Linked DNA regions of Homo sapiens: region 1 is linked to region 2. Evidence: promoter capture Hi-C in human tissues and cell types (Jung and others, 2019). All regions are on one chromosome and are shown on one strand. Each heading gives the region's core, a stretch centred on a gene start or on the middle of the fragment in contact. The rest is flanking DNA. Distances are from core to core; before and after follow the strand shown.

Region 1 (7,307 bases), core at 2,106-4,605, 520 kb after region 2:
ATAACCCAGGGAATACTTGGCGGCAAAGAGAAAGTCTCTAGGAGTAGCTCAACTTGGTCTTGCCCTTTTTCTTAACATTCAGACCCCCTTAAGTAATTAACCCTCAAGGAGGTGAGTTGCACACCCTTGGCAATCAGATACCTCCAAGTTTAATTCAGATGGGCATGCTGGGAGAACCCTAGAAAGGCTTTAGAACAGGCCGGGCGCGGTGGCTCACGCCTGTAATCCCAGCACTTTGGGAGGCCAAGGCAGGTGGATCACCTGAGGTCAGGCGTTCAAGACCAGCCTGGCCAACATGGCAAAACCCTGTCTCTACTAAAAAAAAAATACAAAATTAGCCGGGCGTGGTGGTGCATGCCTATAATCCCAGTTACATGGGAGGCTGAGGCAGGAGAATCACTTGAATGCAAGAGGTGGAGGTTGCAGTGAGCCGAGATGGCGCCATTGCACTCCAGCTTGGGCTACAGAGTGAGACTCCATCTCCCCGCCCCCCCCCCAAAAAAAGGCTCTAGAACAATAATAGTAGTACTTATTTTGAATGGGACTGCCAGTAGAGCAAGATTTGTCAGATTGCAGCCAGCTCTTTTGCCGTAGGAAACCATTTGTTAACTAGTCTGCGTTGGGGGAACGGGACATTTAAACAGATATACACAATGGTTTCTCCACAGGCAGGCTTTGTTAATAATCCAGAGCAGATATATAGGGTGAGATAAGAGGTAGACAGATGGCTAGTGATTCCTCCCGCCATCACAGTGGCTCTGATTGGCAAGGACAGATCTGTGAGGCTGCATTGCCCTAAAACAGCCATTTGCAGGGAGAATAGAGCTTGGGGGATTCCCCAACTATGAACTCTCTGGCTTCAACCCTGACAATGGTATATGGGAAGAAGGAAATAAAAATGCATTCTAGAGGCATTGAGAACAGGGTCCCTGGCTGGAATAAATTGGCATCTTAATAAGATATTAATAAATCACTGCCTTTTTGAGCAAAGCTAAGACTCAACAAATGCTGAGAGTGAAAATCCAGTCACCATTTTCTTTTCTCTTATTTTCTCTTCTTTTCTTTTTTTGGGATGGAGTTTTGCTCTTGTTGCCCAGGCTGGAGTGCAGTGGCTCAATCTTGGCTCACTGCAACCTTCACCTCCTGGGTTCAAGCAATTCTCCCGCCTCAGCCTCCAAGTAGCTGGGATTACAGGCGTCCGCCACCACGCCCGGCCCACCCATTTCTTTTGGGAGACTTTAGGGTGTGAAAAGAGAACTCTTTAGTCTGGTTAAGCTAAACTATTTCCAATTTCTCCTTAAATGTTAAGGAGGAAGTAAAGATGTCCCAAACAGTGTAGGTCTAAACTAAAATAGAGAAGTTGGTTGTGAAGGTTCCCCAGGAGGTAGCATAATCAGTGGCTAAAAAGCTTTGGCCGGGCGCCATGGCTCACGCCTGTAATCCCAGCACTTTGGGAGGCCGAGGCAGGCGGATCATGAGGTCAGGAGTTTGAGACCAGCCTGGCCAACATAGTGAAACCCCGTCTCTACTACAAATACAAAAAATAGCTGAGCATTGTAGTCCCTGCCTGTAATCCCAGCCACTCAGGAGGCTGAGGCAGGAGAACCGTTTGAACCAGGGAGGCGGAGGTTGCAGGGAGCCGAGATCGCGCCACTGCACTCCAGCCTGGGCAACAGAGGGAGACTCCGTCTCAAAAAAAAACAAACAAAAAAAGAGACTGAGGTGGAGGATTGCTGGAGCCCAGGAGTTGGACTATGAACTATGACTATGCCACTGCACTTCAGCCTGAGTGACAGTGAAACCATGTCTCTAAAAAAAAAAAAAAAAAAAAAAAAGAAGGGAAGGAAGGTTTTAAGTAAAGATGCTTCAATATTTAAGAAACTTGAAGTTTTCATGTGAGTCAAGAGTTTGCATAGACATTAAGTGTGATGACTTATTCCTCGATTCTCTTCCCCCTCCCTTTTTTTTTTTTTTTTTTTTTTGAGACAGTCTCACCGTGTCACCCAGCCTGGAGTGCAATGGCATGATCTTGGCTCGCTGCAACCTCCACCTCCCGGGTACAAGCAATTCTCCTGCCTCAGCTTCCTGAGAAGTTGGGATTACAAGCACCCGCCACCATGCCTGGCTAATTTTTGTGTTTTTAGTAGAGACAGGGTTTCACCATGTTGGCCAGGCTGGTCTCAAACTCCCTGTCTCAGGTGATCCGCCCCCCTCTGCCTCCCAAAGTGCTGGGATAACAGGCATGAGCCACCACACCCGGCCCTCTTCCCTATCCTAACTCCTGGTTTCTCTCCCCGACCCCCGACCCTGGTGTCTCCGCTTTCTATTCTTCCCTCTTCCCTGACTCCAGCTGCCTCTTTCTCCTCATCACCTGCCTCCTGAAGTCTCTTTCTTTCCAGCCTTCTCTCCATCATTTGGCCCACCCCCTCCTCCATGTTCATCTCACTCTCCTGGCCCAGTATCATCTGACTGAATGGCTTTCCCACTTTCCTTTACCATCCATTTGTTGCCCTTAATCACCTCAATCCCGTGCTCTCTGATTTTGTTACTTAACCATTTCCTGAACATCTCCCTCCACCCGCACCCCCCACCCCGGGAAAAAAGAAAAAAAGAAAGAAAACTTCTTCTAGGGTTAAAGGGTGTTGGGGGGTGATTATAAGCTTTAAGTGATAGAAAGTTTTCTTTTTTTTCTTTTTTTGAGTTGGAGTCTCGCTCTGTTGCCCAGGCTAGAGTGCAGTGGCGCGATCTCAGCTCACTGCAAACTCCACCTCCTGGGTTCAAGCGATTCACCTGTCTCAGCCTCCTGAGTAGCTGGAATTACAGGTGCCCGCCACCGTGCCTGGCTAATTTTTGTATTTTTAGTAGAGACGGGGTTTCACCATGTTGGCCAGGCTGGTCTCGAATTCCTGACCTGGTGATCCACCCACCTCCGCCTCCCAAAGTGCTGGGATTACAGCCGTGAGCCACCACGCCCAGCTGAAAGTTTTCTTTCTTTTTTCTTTTCTTTTCTTTTTTTTTTTTTTTTGAGTTTGGAACCTGAATTGATCAGGGGGAAAAAAATGAAGCAGAAATGCCCTGCAGATTCTTGGATCATCAAACATGGGTGTCACATGAGGTTCTTGCATGGAATGTGGCTGACGCTTTCCTTGGGACCATGGGACCACCACCCTCCCTGGCCCCATGCTTCCTTGCTGCCATCTTTTCCAGGTATGTCACCTTCCGCTGTGCAGACCCACTGCTCCTGAGCGCTGGGGTGTACTTTGGCTGTTGGGGCAACTGCAGCAGTGTCTGGGCCCCACCTGCTCTTTAGCAGCCTTAGCTTCGCTTTGGGGCCAGGCCACCCTCATTTCTCACTTCTAAAAGGGTGGGACTTCCTGCTGTGCCCGAGAGTGGAGCTCTAAGATGCAGAGCCTGTGCCTCAGCTACACCTGTGCTTGCTGGGGGAAGTTTCTGGCACCCTGGGGTTTCAGGGTCTGTTTGCAACCTTGCACTAGATTCCCAGCTTGGGTTGGTGGTGACAGTCATACAGGGCTCCAGCCACTTCCCCAAAGGGCCAAATGCTTAAGCACTTAGACCTGTTTAGCCCCTCCCAATGAGTCTGATCTTTTTTTATCTTCTTCAAGGGCATTCGCTACCTTTCATCAGTTTCTGCTAAAGCTGGTGTTCCTTCAGCCACTTTGTGAGAGGTTCTGAACCCGTCAGAACTTCAGTTCTCTTTAATAAAACAGAGTAGGCTGGGCGCGGTGGCTTAAGCCTGTAATCCCAGCACTTTGGGAGACCAAGGCGGGCAGATCACCTGAGGTCAGGAGTTCAAGACCAGCCTGGGCAACATTGTGAAACCCTATCTCTACTAAAAATACAAAAATTAGCTGGGCGCGGTGGCACATGCCTGTATTCCCAGCTACTCGGGAGGCTGAGGTAGGAGAATCACTTAAGCCTGGGAGGCAGGCGGAGGTTGCAGTGAGCCCGAGATCGTGCCACTGCACTCTAGCCTGGGCAACAGAGCAAGACTCTGTCTCAAAAAAATATATATTATATATAATATATGTATATAAATATATATAATATATATAAAACATAATACATGTATATAAATATATATAATATATATAAAACATATATTTAAAACATATATATTTTATATATATAATGTATATAAATAAAACAGAAGTAGTGACTCCTGCCCTGTTTCCTCCTAGGATTGTTGTGGAGTGAAATGGACTAATGGACATGAATACCCTTTGGAAACTAGAAGACAACTTATTTTAGAAAGGATTTCTGAGGTCTTGCACAGTGCCTCATGCCTGTAATCCCAGCACTTTGGGAGGCCAAGGTGGGCAGATCACCTGAGGTTGGGAGTTCGAGACCAGCCTGACCAACATGGAGAAACCCCATGTCTACTAAAAATACAAAATTAGCTGGGCATGGTGGCACATGCCTGTAATCACAGCTACTTGGGAGGCTGAGACAGGAGAATCACTTGAACCCGGGAGGCAGAGGTTGCAGTGACCCGAAATCGCGCTTTTGCACTCCAGCCTGGACAACAAGAGTGAAACTCCATCTCAAAAAAAAAAAGAAAAAAAAAGGATTTCTGGTTTTCCTATTTTTAAAAAATTTTTTACTTGGTAATTTTTTTTTTCATAGAAACAGGGTCTCACTATGTTCCCCAGGCTGGTCTCGAACTCCTGGCCTCATGTGATACTCCTGCCTTGACCTCCCAAAGTGCCTGGGATTACAGGCATGAGCCACTGCACCTGGCCAGTTCTCCTATTTTAAATTTATTTTTATTTTATTGTGGTAAGAACACTTGATGTGAGATTTACCATTTTAACAAAGTTTTAAGTGTACAATGCATTGTCCAGTTTCTTTTTCTCCTACATGTAGGATTTGGGTACTTACTGAGTACACTGTGCCCAATGCTAAATTAAGTGCTTGGATAGAGAAAGGAGATTTGAAAAGTTAGAAGGCTTGACTTTTACCTTCGAAAACTTCATATCGAAGAAAGGACACCATGAAGATGTGACATACTCAGAGAACAATCATCATTCCAATGAATTGCTGGAAGATCATTTAGACCATAAGAACTGGTCTTCAAATTGCACTTGGATATAAGCCCCGTGGGGCAGGAAGTTTTGTTCATTGCTGGATTCCCCAATGCCTAGAACAGTGCCAGGCATAGTTGGCACTCATTCCTTCATATTTATTGAATCAGCCAATAAAGTAGTGCAGTGTTGCTTTTGAGGGAAGGAATATGAAGGCTGGAGAGCATTGAATCCTTGCAGAGAAGCTTGGTTTTGTGAGAGCAAGAGAGGCACATATGTTCTGGAGCAGAGAAGGTTGATGTAATAGTAATTGTTGCAGAGAAACTGTTCCTGCAGCTGTCATTGCAGCTGGAATAGAAGTGATAGAAACCAAATCCTGTACTACTGCAAACCAAGCCAGGAGGTATGTGAATCTTGGGCCAAGTTCTTCACTGTCTTTTTATTCCAGCTCCTCTTGTGATCTTGTCTTTCTGCTCCACTTACCTCTACTGTCTCCAGTTTAGGATGTTGACTTTAGAGTCCACGTCACAGTGCAACTTTTTTTATTTTGTTTTGTTTTTAGACAGGGTCTTGCTCTGGCACCCAGGCTAGAGTGCAGTGGTGCACTCTCAGCTCACTGCAGTCTCCACCTCCCAGGCTCAGGTGATCAGTCTTCCCACCTCAGCCTCCTGAATAGCTGGGACTACAGGCACATGCCACCACACCTGGCTAATTTTTGTATTTGGATTTTTAGTAGAGATGGGTTTTTGCCCTGTTGCCCTGGCTGGTCTCCAAATCCTGGTCTCAAGCTATTGGCCTGCCTCCCAAAGTGCTAGGATTACAGGCATGAGCCACTGCACGTGGCCACAAGATTTTTTTTTTTTGAGACGTAGTATCGCTCCATTGCTTGGACTGCAGTGCACTAGCGTGATCTCGGCTCACCACAGCCTCCACTTCCCAGATTCAAGCGATTCTCCTGCCTCAGCCTCCCGAGTAGCTGGGATTACAGGCGCCCACCACCATGCTCAGCTAATTTTTTGTATTTTTAGTAGAGACGTGGTTTCTCCATGTTGGTCAGGCTGGTCTCGAACTCCTGACCTCCTGCCTCAGCCTGCCAAAATCCTGGGATTACAGGCATGAGCCACCACACCTGGACTTCTTTTTTTTTGAGATGGTGTCTTGCTCTGTTGCCCAGGCTGGAGTGCAGTGGCATGATCCCGGCTCACTGCAACCTCCGCCTCCCAGGTTCAAGAGATTCTCCTGCCTCAGCCTCCCAAGTAGCTGGGACTGCAGGCACTTACCACCATGCCTGGCTCATTTTTGTATTTTCAGTAGAGACAGGGTTTCACCATGTTGGCCAGGCTGGTATCAAACTCCTGACCTCAGATGATCTGCCTGCCTCGGCCTCCCAAAGTGCTAGGATTACAGGAGTGAGCCACTGCTCCCGCTCGTTTTTGGTGTTTTTTTTTGAGACAAGGTCTTGCTCTGTTGCCCAGACTGGAGTACAGTGGAGTAATCTCGGCTCACTGTAATCTCTGCCTCCTGGGTTCAAGCGATTCTCCTGCCTCAGCCTCCCAAGTAGCAGGGATTACAGTTGCACACCACCGCACCCGGCTAATTTTTGTATTTTTAGTAGAAACAGGGTTTTACCATGTTGGCCAGGCTGGTCTCAAACTCCTGACCTCAAGTGTTCTGCCCACCTTGGCCTCCGAAAGTGCTGGGATTACAGGCATGAGCCACCGCGCCCAGACAGGAGTGCAGCTTTTGATGTGATATTATAAGCTTAATATCTCCAATCAATTATTTTTCATTATATCTCTTTAATTATAATGTACATTATATTTAAACAGTGTAACTTTAAAATGACAATATTGTTTTTTCCCCCAAAAAATGCTTGCTAAATATTTAAACTCTGAAAATGTATTTGGTCTTTACCTTCTTTCTGGCTAAATCTATTTTCACACTCTCTGGGGGACTGCAAGAAAATATTGACTGAGTTTAAGGTAAGATTTTCATGGTTTTTTTTTTTTTTGCAATTATACTTGATTTGCCACAGCTTAGAGTTCATGTTCGATTTGGTCATAATTTCTAGATCTACTTTTACTGTTGATCAAATAATCTTCCTATTGGTGAGCTTCATATCATTAACTTTCTATTCCTGCATAATGTTATTGGTGGAAGAAATGTGGGAGACCCTACATCTATACCTCATTCCTTTATTACTGGAGCTGATGACAGGATTTACCCATCTGTCTATTTATTTCATTTTTTTAAATTTTATTTTTT
Region 2 (6,792 bases), core at 20-2,519:
GAAGCTCTGCCCAGTGCCGTCCGCATCCCTGGGAGCACACAGTAATATTAAAAGTGGTGACTCCAGCCCAGTGGCAGGGCTGCACTTGCCCAGATGAGGATCGAAACTGGCGCTCAGAGAGGCGCGGGACCTGCTCAACGTCACACAGCAGAGCATGGCGGACACCCGCCACCCCACGTTTAAATGCTGTGCGCAAGGCTGGGGTCATCTGGTCCCCAAGCCCAGGGTCTGGTGGAAGGGCGCAGAACCACGGTGGTCAGTGACCACAGGGGCCGAGGTAGGAAAGGGGGAGGGATTTGGGAATCCGGTCAAGACTCAAGGCAGGAAGGGAGAAGAGCTCTGGACGCTGGGACAAGGAGGTCAAAGGCCTGGGGCTGGAGTCCGACGGAGCCAGAGGGGAAGACAAGACTGGGGGCGGCGCGCGCCACCCAGCGGTATCGGGAGGGAGGACCGGAGGGAGGGCTGGGCCGGACGCTCCTCTCGCGCACCGATCGACCTCGGGTTCCTGGAGGGGCGTCCCCGTGGGATCCCGGCTCCGTACATCCTGGAGCCCCTAGGGGAGGGACGGACCAGTGGGGGCCGGCGGGGCCTCATCAGACACCCCAACGCCAGGACCCAACGGGACCGAGGACGGTCGCCGGGCGCTTCACGGTTCGCGTGGTTTCAGGATCTCGGAGAACACAACCGGCAGGTCCTGCAGCTCCGCGCCCATCTCCCTCCCCGCGGCCACACCCCCGGCCACGGCCCGGCCCTGCCGGAAGCACAGTCCTCCTGGCCACGCCCCCCAGTCCTTCGTAGCAAAAGCTCCGGTCCAGGCCCCGCCCCCAGCCCGCCCCAACCTCGATTGCCTACTAGGCCCCGCCGCCCTTTGGCAGTAACGTCCGAGTCCGGCTCCCGCGCAGGCCCCGCCCCGCCCCGCCCCGCCGCCCTCCGTCCCTCCCATCCGGGGGACTCAACGCGTCCCACCGAGGCCCCGCCTTCAAACAGGCCCCGCCCCCTAACGGACCCCGTCCCACCGAGGACCCGCCTTCAAACAGGCCCCGCCCCCGAACAGACCCAGTCCCACCGAGGCCCCGTCTCCGGGAAGGCCCCGCCCACGAACAGACCCACCCCACTGAGGCCCCCCGACGCCGCTGCCGCTCTGCAGCCCCCCAGGCGGGACGCGTCGCGCGGGCTGCCCCTTCTCCCTCTCAGCTTTCGGAGGGACCCGGGCTGAGCGCCCCGCCCCGCCTCGCCCCGCCTCTTCCCTCGCCCGATCCCGCGCCCTCAGTGTCCCGGCCGCGCAGGACTTGACATGCTGCCCGACTGCCTGTCGGCCGAGGGCGAGCTGCGCTGCCGCCGGCTGCTGGCAGGGGCCACGGCCCGGCTCCGCGCGCGGCCCGCGTCGGCCGCGGTGCTCGTGCCGCTCTGCTCAGTGCGTGGGGTCCCGGCGCTGCTGTACACGCTGCGGTCCAGCCGCCTGACCGGGAGGCACAAGGGCGACGTCAGGTACAGCGGCCGGGAACTCCTCGCCCTTTGCCGGAGGCTACAGGAGCCCGGGGCTGGCAGGGACCTCTGGCAGGGCACTTAGCCCCTTCGAGCCTCGGTTTCCGCCTCCGTAAAATGGGTCTGGGGAGAGTCCCTCCGCCCAAGGGCTGCAGCGAGAGGTCAGCGATCCGTGTCCGTCGGCCCCGGTGCACCTGCCGGGGCGCCACGTCCTCGCCGCGTGGGCCCCTCGTACGCGTCCTTGCGCGCACGCCTGGGCCGGGACACCCCTTTGAGCTGTTTCCCGCTTAGAGGGCGGACGCCGCCCCCTGCCGGCGACTACGGAGAGGTTCGGGCCCCGCCCGGCGGGAATTAAGAACATCCTGAGGACAATGTCAGTGTTGCTGGGGCCACCATAGGCCGAATTTGGGTATCTGAGCCCCAGGATCTTCTTGCCCCTGCTGCAGACCCTCTTATCCTGCGCTGTCCCGGGCCTCTCTTCCTTATCCCCATTGCTCAGGGAGGTAAACTGGCCTCCAGAGGTCGCATGGCTTGCCTGGGGCCTCCCAGTAAACTAGGGGCAGAGGCAGGCGACACTTCGGTGGGCCAGTGGCCCCCCCCGCACTGCCGATACCCCGACCTCTCCGTGGCCCCAAGAGTCCAAGGACCAGACTCCTTGTGTCTGTTTAGTTTCCCAGGCGGCAAGTGCGACCCGGCTGACCAAGATGTGGTGCACACGGCCCTGCGGGAAACCCGGGAGGAGCTGGGCCTGGCAGTGCCCGAGGAGCACGTGTGGGGCCTGCTGCGGCCTGTGTATGATCCGGTAAGCCACTTGGCTGAGGCCACCCCACCCCATTCACTCACTCTGTGCCTGCCCTGGAGCTGGGCTACCAGGGACCAGGAGAGTGGTCATGGACCCCCACGGGCACAAAGTGTGGAAGGGTGCCCCTAACCTGCCTGGTCACATGCACCACCCCACACACCCCCTCGGGAAGGGATTGGGGAGGCTCTGGTGTCCTGAGTAGAGGTGGCCCAGGGCGATGGGGTGGGCCAGCTCCACTCAGTTTGGTGGATTAGGGTCAGGGAAGCTTCATGGGGTAGGCAGGGATTGAACCCAGGCTTGAATGCCAAGTGGGAGATTGTCCTAAGCAGAGGGAACAGGTCTAGTGCATTTGAGGGGACCTGAGTCAGTCAGCATGGCTGGAGGACACAGGCAGGTGGACCCGAACATGACTACCAAAGGCCTATGCATGGCAAAGGGGTCTTCCTCTCACACTCCCCTCCCCAGCCTTCAAACCCAGCGAAGGCCATGCTTCCCTGACCACCTGCCCTCTTCCCCAGCAAAAGGCCACCGTGGTGCCAGTGCTTGCTGGTGTAGGCCCACTGGATCCCCAGAGCCTCAGGCCCAACTCGGAGGAGGTGAGCTGGGGGATATGAGGGGGTTGGGCTGTTCCAGTCCTCTGTCTACCCTCTCTGCCTCCTGCCTGCAGGTAGATGAGGTGTTTGCACTGCCGCTGGCCCACCTGCTGCAGACGCAGAATCAGGGCTATACCCACTTCTGCCGGGGTGGCCACTTCCGCTACACACTACCCGTCTTCCTGCATGGACCACACCGGGTCTGGGGCCTCACAGCTGTCATCACTGAGTTTGCCCTGCAGCTGCTGGCACCTGGTACCTACCAGCCCCGCCTGGCCGGCCTGACCTGCTCAGGGGCTGAGGGTCTGGCCCGCCCTAAGCAGCCCCTGGCTTCACCCTGTCAGGCCAGCTCCACTCCAGGACTGAATAAAGGTCTTTGACAGCTCTAGAGCTCTTGCTTCTGCTGTACTGGGGCCTTGACCTTGGGCAGACCACTCCAGGTCGCTGGCTGGGGCTCCTCCTTCCAGTCACGCCATGCCCCACAGCAATGGACACTTCCTGGGTGCCAAGTACTTGGAGTCAATTCATCTCACCCTCACAACAGCCCATAAGGCAGGGCCAACACTGTCTCTGGCTGGTGAGACTGCTTTCAGGGAGGAGAGACACCTTGCCTAAGGGCCCCACGCTGGGATTGGAACCAGAGCTCTCAGACTCCACAGCCCAGACTCTTAGGCACTGCACTGCCCTGTCTCAGCCTGCACCTCCTGTTCTCTCTGCTGTGCCTGGCTGACGCTGTGCTGGGCTCCGGGATCCCAGAGAGGAGTAAGGCGCACCCATGCCCCTGGGTGTTACTGCAGGAGTCTAACATGCAGAGCCCCTGTGTGTGCCAGCTGCTGTGTGGGGGCCACAGCTGTGGACCGGTCAGATGCTCACCTGCCGTCCAGAGGGGGTGCTCAGTCTAGGGGAGACCTCAGACCAGGTCACACAGATAATCATGTGGTTCCACATTAATTAATCACAGATAATAGTGGAATTATATAAGACATCAACTAGGTAGACCAGGGTTCTGTGAAAGAGCTGAGGGAGCGGGTGGTCTGAGCTTGCCGTGGAGGATGGCTGGATCCAGGGGCTCGGGCTCCCCTCTTGCTGTGCTTTGCGCTGTGCTGGCCTCAGCCCCAAGGAGGTTGTCTGTAGTGCAGAGCGTGAGAGGTTGAGGAGAGGGCAGCAGCATCCATCAACAGAAAACACGGCCGCTCCTTCCCGGCCAGTCTAACCTAGAATTGCACTTCACTGGCCTGCCTTGAGTCACATGTCCTTCCCTGAGCCTGTCACATGGCCGGTTGTGTGTCCGGAATTGGTGGGTTCTTGGTCTCACTGACTTCAAGAATGAAGCCATGGACCCTCACAGTGAGTGTTACAGCTCTTAAGGTGGTGCGTCTGGAGTTTGTTTCTTCTGATGTTCGGATGTGTTTGGAGTTTCTTCCTTCTGGTGAGTTCGTGGTCTCGCTGGCTCAGGAGTGAAGCTACAGACCTTTGTGGTGAGTGTTACAGCTCATAAAAGCAGTGTGGACCCAAAGAGTGAGCAGTAGCAAGATGTATTGCAAAGAGCGAAAGAACAAAGCTTCCACAGTGTGGAAGGGGACCTGAGCGGGTTGCCACTGCTGGCTCGGGCAGCCTGCTTTTATTCTCTTATCTGGCCCCACCCACATCCTGCTGATTGGTAGAGCCGAGTGGTTTGACAGGGCACTGATTGGTGCGTTTACAATCCCTGAGCTAGACACAAAGGTTCTCCACATCCCCACCAGGTTAGTTAGATACAGAGTGTTGACACAAAGGTTCTCCAAGGCCCCACCAGAGTAGCTAGATACAGAGTGTCCATTGGTGCATTCACAAACCCTGAGCTAGACACAGGGTGCTGATTGGTGTATTTACAATCCCTGAGCTAGACATAAAGGTTCTCCAAGGACCCATCAGAGTAGCTAGATACAGAGCTGAAGGGCTCCTCAAGTGCTGCCAAAGTGGGAGCCCAGGCAGAGGAGGTGCCGAGAGTGAGCGAGCGAGTGAGGGCTGTGAGGACTGCCAGCATGCTGTCTCCCCTCAATCAACAGGACACCCCAACTGCTGTTGGGAATTTGGCCGATGACTGCTCTAGCTACTTCCTGCTGGATAGGGGCGAAGAAGGGGCTTTGCAGTTGTAGTGTCCTTCAGAGGGGAACTCTCTAGGCCAGGGGAAGTGCCAGCTGGTCAGTCCAGGGGTCCTCGGTAGAAGTTGTTAGTTGAACTCATTTGGGGTTCCATTTGTAAGACCATCTGTAGCTTGATGGCCTCGATTCTAGAGGAAACAAATTTGACAAGAAGGTTAAAAATACAGGGCCCAAAGGCGAGTAACAGCAAGATGGCTGCCACGGGACCTAGAAAGGGGAGAAGCCATGTTGCCCAACTCCAGAGGTTGGTATAAGAATTTGAAAGGCGTCTGATTTCAGAAGCCTTTTCCTGTAAACGCTGGGTGGCATCTCATGCTATCCCTGACTGGTTAGTGTAAAAACAACACTCTTCCCCTAAGAAGGTGCAGAGTCCTCCTTTTTCAGCAGTGAGGAGATCTAGGCCTCAGCGGTTTTGGAGAGTCACTGCTGCCAAAGAGTCTATTTGGGATTGTAAAGTAAGGATAGATTTCATTATTTCTTCCAACTTTGAGAGGCAGATATGGGTTGAAGATCCACATAAGAGAATATGCCTTGGCTGGGTAGAGAGAAATTTACCCTGGCTTTTAAAGGAATAGGTACACTGTTTTTTCTTTACTACTTCCATCTCTCTCTTTGACTTCTTCTTTGTCTCTTCCTCTCTTTTTTACCCTCTCTTTGACTTTCTGTGTCTGTCCCTCTTTCTCTCTAACTTCTTGTCTCTTCCTCTCTGTCTCTTTCTTTGACTTCCTGTCTCTTTCCTTTCTGCTGCCTCTGCCAGCTGCTTATGCTGCTGTTCTCCCCTCTCCTTCCTATTCTGATGGCTTTGTCAGTGTAAGATTCCCACCTCTTTGTGTTTTTGCATTGCGTGCAATAACTCTATAATTTCCTTGTGGTATTTAATGGGGGTTCCTACAGAGGTTAGGAACTCCCTCTCTTTCCATATTGCAGCATGGGCATGTAGGATTAGATAAGCATACTTGCTATCTGTATACACATTTATTCTTTTTCCCTTTCCCAGTTCTAAGGCCCGGGTAAGTGCCACTAGTTCCGCTAACTGGGCACTGGTCCCTGGGGGAAGAGGCTTGCTTTCAAGTATGGTTACATCACTAACCTTCGTATCCCATTCTCCACAAATGAACTTCCATCAGTATATAGGTTAAGGTCAGGATTAGTTAAGGGGACTTCTAAGAGATCATCTCGGGCGGCATAAGTCTGGACTATAATTTGTTGGCAGTCATGCTTGATTGGTTCCCCATCCTCTGGGAGAAAAGTGGCAGGGTTGAGGGCCATGCATGTGCATATTTGAAGCACTGGTCCCTCAAGGAGTAGTGCCTGGTATCTAAGTAGGCAGTTGTCTGATAGCCATAAACTTCCTTTGGCACCTAGTATGCCATTTACATCATAAGTAGTCTAGACAGTGAGATCCTTTCCTTGTATTATTTTGATAGCCTCTGATGCTAAGACGGCCACTGCTGCAACTACCCTTAAACAGTGAGGCCAGCCTTTTGCTACTACATCAATTTCCTTACTTAGGTATGCCACTGGTTGTGGGGTTGTCCCATGAGTTTGAGTGAGGACTCCAAGAGCTATCCCGGCTCTCTCTCTGACATATAAAGAGAAATTCTGTCCTGTGGGAAGGCTTAAAGCTGGAGCTTGTACTAGAGCCTGCTTTAAGGTTTTGAAGGCTGTTTCTGCCTCTGGTTCCCACTCAACTAGATGAGTATTTGCCCTCTGGGTTTCCTTGATTAGAGGGGCCTGGCTGTCTCGCTGTATCCAGGGATCCATAGTC

The links. Contacts are between HindIII fragments. The study calls those that stand out against the background at their distance.
Region 1: a fragment that was not itself captured here is called in contact with the fragment with the promoter of NUDT8 in region 2 in 1 of the 25 tissues and cell types used here (spleen).

Annotation. Positions count from the first base shown.
Region 1 is chr11:67,109,548-67,116,854 of GRCh38, reverse strand. It overlaps LOC107984341 (a long non-coding RNA gene), which reads left to right. Exons shown (of 2, transcript NR_160735.1): 2 at 4,200-4,563. Among named protein-coding and RNA genes, the nearest start is that of KDM2A, 6.1 kb to the left of the region's middle. The HindIII fragment of the contact is 5,381 bases long and covers 665-6,045 here.
Region 2 is chr11:67,624,414-67,631,205 of GRCh38, reverse strand. NUDT8 (nudix hydrolase 8) reads left to right here and starts at 1,269. Exons shown (of 4, transcript NM_001243750.2): 1 at 1,269-1,488; 2 at 2,155-2,287; 3 at 2,806-2,883; 4 at 2,955-3,268. The coding sequence starts at 1,295. The coding sequence ends at 3,260. LOC124902696 (a long non-coding RNA gene) reads right to left here. Exons shown (of 2, transcript XR_007062741.1): 2 at 3,813-5,152. RefSeq lists silencers at 347-516, 637-1,426, 1,717-1,866, 2,434-2,728 and an enhancer at 5,064-5,593. The HindIII fragment of the contact is 11,433 bases long and covers 1-3,497 here.